Linked DNA regions of Homo sapiens: region 1 is linked to region 2. The links are contacts of gene promoters, found by promoter capture Hi-C in blood cells and fetal thymus (Javierre and others, 2016). All regions are on one chromosome and are shown on one strand. Each heading gives the region's core, a stretch centred on a gene start or on the middle of the fragment in contact. The rest is flanking DNA. Distances are from core to core; before and after follow the strand shown. Region 1 has its middle 140 kb from the start of CAVIN4. Region 2 holds the start of PLPPR1 (phospholipid phosphatase related 1).

Region 1 (5,226 bases), core at 2,672-5,171, 310 kb before region 2:
TCTCACGAGAACAGCATTGAAAAGACCTACCCCCATGATTCAATCATCTCCCACTGGGTCCTTCCCACAACAAGTGGGAATTATGGGAGCTACAAGATGAGATTTGGGTGGGGACACAGAGCCAAACCATATCACTATTACACGAGTCAGAATATCCTTGTCTATATAGTGAAAATGTAATACTTGTCTCCCTTCTTCAGAAAAAGGCAGTGTAGCCCAATGGTTGAGAGAAATGATTTCTGTAGTCATATGGGCCAGTGTTCAAGTCTTAGCTCTGCAACTTAATACAGTGTGACTCTGGGAAATTTCCTTAATCTTTCTGAGGCTCAGTTTCCTCATCTAGACAATGGAGAAAATAATAATACTTATAGGGTTGTTATGAAGATGAAATCCAGCCATTATTTTATGTGCTTAGTATAATACTGGGCATATTGTGTGTTTCCTCAACTAACTGTGGCATATTTATGCATCTACAGGTACATATTTGTGAAGATCAAATAAAATATACACAAAATTGGTTTATAAGTGATAAAGAGCTATTCAGATGTGCTGGCATCATTAGCTGAGCATTCTAGTATATTTTTTGAGCCCAGACTTTGAGTTAAAACCTCCTGGGGACCTGAATAAAGCAACCATTGAGCCACTAGATCCACAGGAAGGCCTACCCTTTTCCACCCTCTGTCTCTGGCCCCAATACCACCCTCCATCTACTGTGCAGCCACTGTATTCTAGGCCCTGTGCTTTGCCTTCCTTGTTATTAACCCCCACAACAGTCCTTCAAGATAGATATGATAATTCATGTTTTGTAGATGAAACGGAGCTTAGCTCTTTTAAGTAACTTGTTTTATCATTGTATAGCTCTTACATTAGGGAATTAAGGTGAAAACACAAGTTGCTCTGGTGTTAAAGTACATGCATTTTTCACCGTACCATGTCTTCAAACAACAGTGGCAAACCAGACCGACTTGTACTTTGTCCTGGATCTGACGCTCCCACACCCTAGCAACTCTAGGTACGTTGGCTTACCACTAGAGGATAGGTTTCTTCATACATGAAATGACAGTAGCAAGACCTACCCTATAGGAATTTGTAAGTATTAAACAGAAAAGCATATAGTCAGTGATAATAAAGAATATTTCTTCATATTTTGTCTTCTGGTACTTTCCATCTCCCAAGGGTTGCTGGAGAGCCGCTCCTCCTTCCCTAGGCCAGCAGGGGGCAGTAGAGACCATAAAGGATCTGACCCAACCAGGAGGATCTCCTTAACCAACTGCCTCTGGGATCCTCCACCACTGTCTGGAATCTGAATTCGATCAGGTCCTTGGTAGTCTCTGATTCTGGCTCTTGGAATAGAAAAGAAGGAAAAACCTGTTATACACAATAACAGACACAGCTATCACAACAATAGTAATCCTTAGTGCTTGCGTTAAGACTCCAAATAGAAAGTTTTTATATTATACAGGAAGCGATTCACGTTGGCCCGGGGTTAGCAGTTTCATTAACCTCATGAAGACGTTAATATCATTAGGAAGGCAGAAAGAGAAAACCTTCAACTCCTCCATTAGACCCAATTACAGAGCGCTGCTGCACAAAGGAGGCTGCTGCCGAGCTTGTCTGTGCTCAGGCTCGCAGCCGCAGTGATCCCATTAGATTGCCACTCACTGAAGTCATTAAAGCAGCCTCATTTGTGGTAAGAAACCATCATTCCCGAAATAGGTTGCTTTCAAGAAATGAATATGGGTAAGTGATAATGATGACAAATTAACACAAGATGATAAAGTAAATGCAAATGCAGGCTGGGCCAAACATTGATAGATGGAGCTGGGGGTGGTATATCCCAGTTGCTCTATTTGTGCTTGATTTCTTACAACAACACTATGAGATCGCATTATTTAAGTTTTTATTCTGATTTATCTGGCTCTGCTCCCACTTGCTGTCATGAACCCCTGCAAAGTCCTCTCTATGTTTTTCTGATAGTTCTCAAAGGCAGCAGCAGTGCAGAGCATGTCATGTGTATGACGAAGAAGTACGACCAGTTTCCACATGGTGTGCATGGTTTTATTCCCTTTCTCCTGATCTCAGGTGCCCATATACAGGGGTCAGTTACTCCCACTGGCCACGGTCCCCTCTGCTCTGTAAGGTGGCTGTTGCTTCTGCTGGTTATTTCTGTGGATGCTCTCCAGCTCTGGAGGTGCCAAACCTGTGGTGGTTTATGTGCAAGTGTGTGTGTGTGTGTGTGTGAGAGAGAGAGAATGTGTGTGTGTGTGTGTGTGCATGTGTGTGTGTGTGAAGGTATGCCTCTTCCTTTTTTTTTTTTTTGAGATGGAGTTTTGCTCTGTCGCCCAGGCTGGAGTGCAGTGGTGTGATCTTGGCTCACTGCAACCTCTGCCTCCCAGGTTCAAGTGATTCTCCTGCCTCAGCCTCCTGAGTAGCTGAGATTAGAGGCGCATGCCTCCACATCCAGCTAATTTTTGTATTTTTAGTAGAGACAGGGTTTCACCGTGTTGGCCGGGCTGGTCTCCAACTCCTGACCTCAGGTGATCCACCCATCTTGGCCTCCCAAAGTGCTGGGATTACAGGTGTGAGCCACCGCACCTGGCCACCTCTTCTCTTTTTAAAAAGAATCACATCCTCCTAGATACCCTCAACACAGTACTGAGAGGCCCCTGGGTTCTTTATGAAAATAGACCTCTTTTTGTCCACCCTGCCAATATATCATTCTTCAAGATTGAGTCTAGATATCCTATTATCCAGGAAGTCTTCCCCAAGCACCCACATTGCTATGTGAGTATCTTCCATCCCTTTATGCCCTCAAACTACTCTGCTTGCTGCTATCTTGGCATAGGATATCAACAACAGTCTAATGGGGCAGATGACACATGACTCCTTGTGGGCAGGGTATGACTTACTCACCTTTGTATCCCCAGCACCTAGGAAACTGCCTAGCCCACAGTAGGTGCTGAATCTGTGTTTATGAAGTGAGCTTATTTCCTCTTTGTCTTTGAGATTTCTTTACCACTGGTCCCTCCCCTGATCCCACCCCAGCCCCTAGCATTCTAACTTTCTCTAGTCAGCTCTTTCTGGTACCTGCCTTCTTTGGCATGATACCCTGAATGCCTGTTTTTACCTAGGGCTCTGGATTTGTGGTTTGGTTTTGAATTGTTCACTAGGTTTTAAACCAATACTTTTTTTTGGATGCTGTATTACTTTCCTAGGGCTGCCATAACAAAGTACAACAAACTGGGTGGTTTACGCATCAGACACTTGTTGTCTCACTTTTCTAGTGGCTAGAAGTCTGAAATTAGGGTGTCAACAGGGTTGGTTCCTTCTGAGGGCTGTGAGGGAGGCATCTCCAGGCCTCTCCGCTAGCTTCTGGCATTCCTCAGCATGTAGATATTTACCCCGTGACTTCACATTGTCTTCCCTTTGTAAGTGTCTTTGTGTCCAAATGTCTCCTTTTCATAAGAACTCCAGTCATATTAGATTAGGGCTCACCCTAATGACTTCACCTTAATTTGATCATCTTAAAGAACATATTTCTAAACAAGTGCAATGGTGTGATCTTGGCTCACTGCAACCTCTGCCTCCCGGGTTCAAGCGATTCTCCTGCCTCAGCCTCCTGAGTAGCTGGGATTATAGGCGCATGCCTATAATTCCAGCTGTGAATATAATATATTCACAGATACTAGGGGACAAGACTTCAACATTTTTTGGGGGGTACAATTCAACCCATAACAGATGCCTCATCTAGTAGCACCTCAATGGTAAATGGCACCACGCAGCTGGCCCAGGTTTCACCAAAGCTTCCCATGGCAGCTTCTGTTTTTCAAGAGGGAGTTCACATGGTATCCAATAGTTGCTAGTTCACTTTCCTTTTCTATATTCTCAAGGAGAATGCAGTACTCAAACTAGGAGGTATTTTTAATCTTTCACTCTTTAAGTAAACTGGGCTGTACATTTATTTTGAGAAGTGAAAAAAAATTTGCTCATTGGCATTGGCATCCAGCTAAAATCAAGTTCAGTAATGCCCCAGGCTATTCAAAGCTTTTGTGCCTGTGACCTATTTGTGGGAAGATAATGTATTAATAATTGTAATGTTATAGCAGCCTCCTGATAATATATTCCAATATTTTATTGGTTTGCTATCTCTGAAAGGACTGGGAACCCCCTGAATAATTCCACTGAGGCGGGATAATCTTAGAAAGTCTCTGAACAGCAGTGAGTCAGCCAGAATAAGCCTGTCTGGCACAATCCACAGGGATCCCCTCAAGAGAGAAAACAAAGTCAAAAGTAGCAGAAACAACTGAGTGGAAGAAGTGAAACCAGTGGAAGATTTAGCCAATTTCCATGGCAGATTTAAGTCACTGGTTTAATGTTGGTCGAAGAGGTGTTCTTGGAGTTGCCTGCATTACGTTGCTTCTCATTTCGATGCTTAGTTTATGAAACATTTATGTGTCTTTTCATGTATTGTTAGTTTCCTCCCCTTTTACTCCCTGGAATGAGAGTCACAAGAGAGGCTACAGAAGAGGTAGTAGCCCCTTCATATCTGATGCAGACATGCAAGTTTTCAGTCCCTTACTGTAAGTTATGCCTTTATGCTACTTGCTTTCAATCCTGGCAATGCCACCATAGATTCTGCTGCAATTGGTCTTGGCTGGGTCGGGGAATAGTGCTTTTTAAGAGCAGCACTGGTGATTCTAATATGTAGCCAATGTTGAGAACCATGCCCTCCATCTTTTTGGCTTGTTTGCTTTGAAAGACAGAAGAGCAAAATTAGGGGAATATTTGCAGTGTAAGGTCTATCTATATTCCTCCAGGACACACATGCCCCTCTCTATCCCCTATCCTTAACTAGGCACATTCATGAAGCAAAAATTCCCTGTACCTCATCATGGCCACGGGCATGAGGGAATGATGCTGGATCATGACCTTAAAGGAACCATGCAGCTCTATGGGCATGAAGAAGCCATGCAGTATGATGGCCATGAGGGAACCATGAGGCTCCATGGGCATGAGGAACCATGCAGCTCCATGGCCATAAGGGAATCATGCAGCTACAGGGCCATGAGGAGCCATGCAGCTTCATGTGCATGAGGTAGTATGCAGCTCCAAGGGCATGAGGAAACCATGCAACAATATGGGCATGGGGGAACCATGCAGCCTCTTGAGCTTGAGAAAATCATGTGGCACCATGTGCATGAGGAAACTGGGTAGCTCCATGTGCCT
Region 2 (5,848 bases), core at 3,106-5,605:
ATGAAAACAGAACCAGCTTCTTACTAGACCCTTTCATTCAAGACAGCTATAGTAGAAATGCTGGGGGTAAAGTTCTGGGGGTGGTCCTTTTTGCTTTTTGGATTTTCTTGATGACAAAAAAGAGTTCTAACCATGATTTACCCAAATATTTTGTCCTACTTAGGGGCAAAGTTTAATACATTAGAACATTATTCTGGTGGATTAGTTTGGCCAGCATGAATCTATCCTTTGAATAATAGTACACTCTGAGCCAAAACTAATTCGCTTTCTAAACCAGAAAAATTAGAATGTGCTTAATATATATGTTTCCATGGGGATAAAAACTATCTACAGAAGCCTGATTTGCTTTTCTCATCTCAACTCCCATTTATAGATAATCACACACAAAACAGTGTCTACTGACTTCATCATCTATAAGGAATGCCAAGTATCATGGTACTTGGTAGTCTATTTCAAAGTCAACGTGTTACCAACATAAATTCACTTTTGGCAATGTATTTATTCATTTACTCCTTAAACATTTACTGAACAGATACATCTTTCTTATTTTCACAAGGCGCTAGGTGCATAAAAAAGAAATAAACTCTGCTCTTGAATGACTTACATCCAACCTAGGGGGGACAAGTCAGATATAAAAAAAGAACTTGATGTTAAGAGTTACAGTAAGAATATATGCAAAGGGCTATAGGGATAGTCTTGTAATAGTTTTTGATAGTTCCAGAAACACTTTGATTCTTGGAATAAGAAACCACTAGTTTAGCCTTTATACTAATGGCCTGACATTTTTATTGAACCAGAAAAGATTGCTATATATAAGAAATTTCTACAGGAAGAAAACATTATATATTTATTTGTCTTATTAGAGTGATTTTTGAAAAGAACCAAAATTATAGGTAGGATACAATTCAAATGGAAATGGTGTATTTCCTATTTCTTAGAAAATATTCAGAGCAGAATCTTTGCACATGCTATATCATGACAGAGTTATGTTACTTCACCTATATATAACCTAATGCAATTTTCATATAGTTTTCTTAGAAAACTATATGTAAACATAAAGAAAACTATAAGAAAATACAGTTTTCTAAGAATCCAGACACCTCAATAGCTTCCATAACTTGGGAGAATTTAATGTTCAGTCCTTTCATCTATTACTTGTTTTTATTAATTATAGAATTTTTTTGGATATTATGTTTTGAATAGCTACTTCTATTTAAAATTTAATAGCTAGTTTTCTTTAAAAATATAAAATTTCATATATAAAATATGTAATAAAAATATAATAAAATATATAATTTAATATATATAATATTAAAAAATATATAATTTCATATATATCCAGGCAACAATGCTGGGTTATTTTGCTGATATAGGAAATAAGGCCATTAGGTATGTTGCTTGGTTGGTAGAAGGAAGTACAAAGTTTAGGGATTATTCTTTAAGTAGAGCAGATGAGTATTAAGTCTGAAATCTGTGATAAAGGAGCATTAAAAATACTGGCAGCCACTGAAATTCTTACCATTAATTTATCTCAAACCATCTGCAGATGTGTGCATATTAATTGGCTTTGGGCATTTTGTTACCTAGGAGGAGTAACACATATGATAGCTAAAATTAGAAGGCAGGCAAAAAAAAAAAAAAGTGAAAATACAAAGCTTGGTATTCCAATGTAGGTGGGGTGTTATAGCAAGAGACCCTGCCAGGCAGGAGTCCTTAATCACTGTGAGACATGAGTGGCAAAAAGTGCTTGAGGCATGTTACTGAAAGACAAAGCTATCTCACACTTACGTCTAGATTTGTGGGTGGAAGGGTGAGAGTTGGAGCTATTCCCCATTCACACTGCCACACATCTTTGTAGCATGCTTTTCATTACATGGATTTGAATACATCAGTGATCAGGGTGATGAGTGAGGGGGCGATGGAGGAAGCCAGAAGGAAAAACTGGAAGGCTTTTGGCTTTAATCTGCTTTGCTTGTTTAAGCTAAGGAAAAAAGAGCTTCTTAGCCTTTTTAAAAAAATAAACTATCACAATAATGAAAATATTAATAACCAAAATAAGAGCTACAGGTTATGCAGAGCTTGTTAGGCAGTAGGCACTATGTTAAGTGCTTTATGTACATCATCTCACTTAATGTCCCTGTGTTTTCCCTACTGTCCCCAAACAGTAAAAATCTCTTCCAGAACTGCTCATTCACCATCTCCTAGCAGACACACCATAAAGAGATTTCACTTTATTTGCAATTCTGCATTTAAAAATTCTCCTTCACCCTTCACCTTGTTGGAGCTACTTTCTGCTTTGAGATGGCGAACAGGTCCATCTGCTTAGAGATGGTCCCTAAGCATTGAGGGGAGTGGTATCCCTTTCCCTCTCACCCAAGGCCAGGCTCAGATAGAGTGGGCTTCTTGGCCAGGCAACCCTGGATACTTATCATTGTAGGAGGAAGTGCCTTAGAATTGTCTCCTATTGAGTGAACTGTAAACCCCAGCCCCTCTTAGTTCATGAATTCAAAGCCGTCACTCACCTTGTGCTTACGCACCAGGGCAAAGAGAATGGCTATCTTGCCTCAAGGAAGCAATTGGCCCTACCAATACTAACACCTTGCAATTCTAGTGAACACTGTTTACTGTTCTGAGGGGAACGTGACAACAAGGCAGATCTATCTTGGATGCCTTCCAAGAAGCCGAGCACCAAAGGGAAGTCCTGATATAAACAGGCATGGAAGGAGGAGCTCCAAATACCCTACATGGTTCACTATAGAGGCTTTGCTGCTCTTCAGGAGAACCTGATCTCCCCTACCTGGTGGATGGAGACTTACTCTCACTTGTCCTTTAAGCAAAGAGATGCTGCAATTCTACTTCTTTCAAGGATCTACTGAGAAAATAAACCTGCCACTACACCCAGGGCACTTTCTCTTTTTAAGAACTTTCCTTTTTTTCTCTCCTTCCTCTAAGTCTGTTCTCCTAAACTTTTGTTGGTGGTATTTAGACATGCTGTTTTTTTCTCCTCTGGGTGTGCTCTAGGATTTGATCTAATTGTCCTGCTGTTCGAGTGTCACTTGGCATTATTATTGGGAAGATGAATGGTATGTGGGTCAGAGTTCAGCAAGAAGGCATCTGCTCGCTTCCACTGTAAAGTGGAAATGCTTAGAGGTGATCTTTAATGAAAGCTTGGAAAAGATTTGCACAAGGCAGGCTGTCCTCTATTCCTCCAAAGCAGAGGGGACCAAAGGTTATCCTTTTCTGGAGGGACAGAAAATGAATAAAAAGGAGGTAGAAATCTCTTTACAGGGAGTTTCCTGCTTGGGATGTCTTTTCTTCTGTAGGAAAGAAAATGGGGTGTGGTGTGTGGGGAGACAGAACGATTAAACAGGGAAGAGATTGAAAATAGAAGCTCTTGAATGGATCCTAACCATTCTGTTTTGCTCACAGAACAATCTGATCCAAGAAGTTTCCACTCTACTTGCAACGACTCTCACCTGCCATCTCCCCTGGCCTCAGGTTACTGTGCCATAGCAGGCTCAGGTTCTCTTACTGGACTCTCTTCGAGTTGACAGTTCTCCCACTTTACCAAATAGCCAGAGGCCTCACAAAGACCTAGAATTGCGTTGGCATTCTAGGCAAGGGGACAATGAACCCATTGTTCTTTTTTTTTTTTTTTTTTGCCTTCTTAAATAGGGCAAATATCTCTTCCATTTACCCCTATCATCAAAGGAGGCTTAGTATGGGGTCCTCAGAGACTCACCTTCCTTCCACTCCTCCTTTGTTGTTTGGAAGAGTTATCGCTAGCCCCCTTCTCGCCCTCGCCCCATTAAAGCTGTTGTGGGACCCGACTGGACGTTGCCTTTTCTTGCTCTTAAAGGAGTGGAAGTTGGGAGGGGAAGAAAGAAGCACACACCAGGAAACTCATTTTAGTTCGGGGCGACCTGCAGCCTGTGGTTCCTCCTGGACCTCTGGGGAGACGCATCTCGGTTGCCCGCAGGGTAGAAAGCAAGAGAATGGCCCACAGGAACGCCCGCGCCAGCGCTAAAACCACACCGGGAGAGGACAGCCCCACGTTACCGAGGACTCGAGGCAGAAGCGGTCTCCAAGGATGGGTGGGGATCCCACCACTGGCTTCCAGCTCTGCATGCGCCGCGGAGTCCCCGCGCAGGGCGCACCTTTGCGGCGGGGTTTCCCCGCTGCCTTCTGGGAACCCCGCGGAGCGACTGCCGCTGGACGCAATCTGGCTGGCTTGCCTCTACCCCGAGCTCACTCTCTCTGCTCTGTCTGGGCTCTGGAGCCAGAGCTGAGTCTCTCTTGAGCATGCGCAGCCCGGCACCCTCCCCGCCTCTCCCCTCCTCCGCCCCCTCCGCGCCAGCCTTTTGCTCTTTCCTTTCATTAAACAAACAGGAGATCCTGAAACCTGGACCCTGTGCAAGCTGCAGCGCCAGGAGGAGGCAGCGGAGGAAGCAGAGCGCGGGATGGGCGCCCAGCGGCATCTGTGATCCCGCGCACCTCCGCCCCACGGGCGCGCGCACAAACACGGACACACACATACACACACTCGCGCACACACTCGCACAAACACACACTCGTACACGCCCGCGCCGCTCGCTCGCCGGCTTGCTCTCCCACGCAAGCGGAATGCAGCAGCGCCTGGAGAGCGTGTCTCGGACCGCCGCCTGAATGTACCTCGCTCCCGGGAGCCGGACGGCCCAGTAGGGCGCACTGGAGGACGCTCCGCTGCGGGAGGTGAGTGCGGCGCCCGCAGCCGGGCCGCTGGGGAAGTCTCTGCACCGGGGCAGTAGGGCAGCGCGGGGCAAGCTCCTGGCCGGACCCGGCGGCGCAGGTGTCCCATGCCTTGCTTGTGGGTGTCGAGGTGCAGATGAAGGCGGCGCTGGGGCTGTGCAGAGGAGAGGACGAACCCAGGGAGGGTCGCCTCCTGCGAGGTGTCAGATTGACCCAGCAGAAAGCTACCACCTCCCTGCTCATAAACTTTCCTTCCATGTCATCTGGGAAACGTGGAGACAAAGGGGGCGTGGAGGCTCCCTCCGTCCCGTTCCACCCTCCTGACTGCATTCCGGGCTGCAACGCGAGCCTGCACGCGTTGGGTGGGTGTGCAGGCGGAGGCGCCCTGCAGGTAGCTGATGCCAAGTCCTCCCACCCGGGCGGGGGTTGAGATTTCTCACCCCAAGCTGTAAGGGTTGCCATTGATTTTCCCTCAGGCATGGGCACCTGTCATCCTTCCCTTCCACCCCTCTGCGTCCTAGGCGCATAGTGGGGTGTGTGTGTCACCTGGAAAATTGGAGGGGCGGCCTTCGGCTTTCTCATCGAGCTCCGGTGCCAAAGGCGCCGGGGTGAGGCTCGGGTCAGTGCGGGGATAAATGATGAGTTACTGACAGGCTTGCCATAATCACCTCCTAGAACGGAGGACGCTAGGATCTCTCCTCCTCAGGGAAGGTGCTGTCTTCACGCACACCATCGCGGCAGCGCTGGGAGCTGAACAGGGGCTGCTGCTGCGGCGGCGGCAGTGGGAAGACGGGGCTTTATCCTCTCCCAACCCATTTCCCAAGGGTTTTATGACACGCACGTGTGGAATATGTGGAGGATTCTGGATTATTATTTTTCTTTGTGGGGATGTCGGGTTTTTTTCCTTTCAACCTCTTTCCTGGGAGAGATTCTGTGGTGTCTGCTATCTAGTTGGTGGACAGGCACGGTTCTGAATATCTCTTCGGCCCGACGGAAAAGGTCCTGAGAAAAGGATTTCCTAAAATCCTTTCTACTACTGGGGCGGGATCTCAGAGTGCAGTGCACCCGCTGCACCCGGGAAAAGCGTCAAATCGAATGGCCTTTTGAAACAGCAGAGACT

What was found. Contacts are between HindIII fragments. The CHiCAGO score rates a contact against its expected background, and 5 or more counts as called.
Region 1: a fragment that was not itself captured here is called in contact with the fragment with the promoter of PLPPR1 in region 2 in 1 of 17 cell types (M0 macrophages); the score reaches 5.5 in M0 macrophages.

The regions. Positions count from the first base shown.
Region 1 is chr9:100,713,590-100,718,815 of GRCh38, forward strand. No RefSeq gene overlaps it. Among named protein-coding and RNA genes, the nearest start is that of CAVIN4, 140 kb to the left of the region's middle. The HindIII fragment of the contact is 241 bases long and covers 3,802-4,042 here.
Region 2 is chr9:101,024,372-101,030,219 of GRCh38, forward strand. PLPPR1 (phospholipid phosphatase related 1) reads left to right here and starts at 4,356. Exons shown (of 8, transcript NM_207299.2): 1 at 4,356-4,731. The HindIII fragment of the contact is 3,390 bases long and covers 3,166-5,848 here.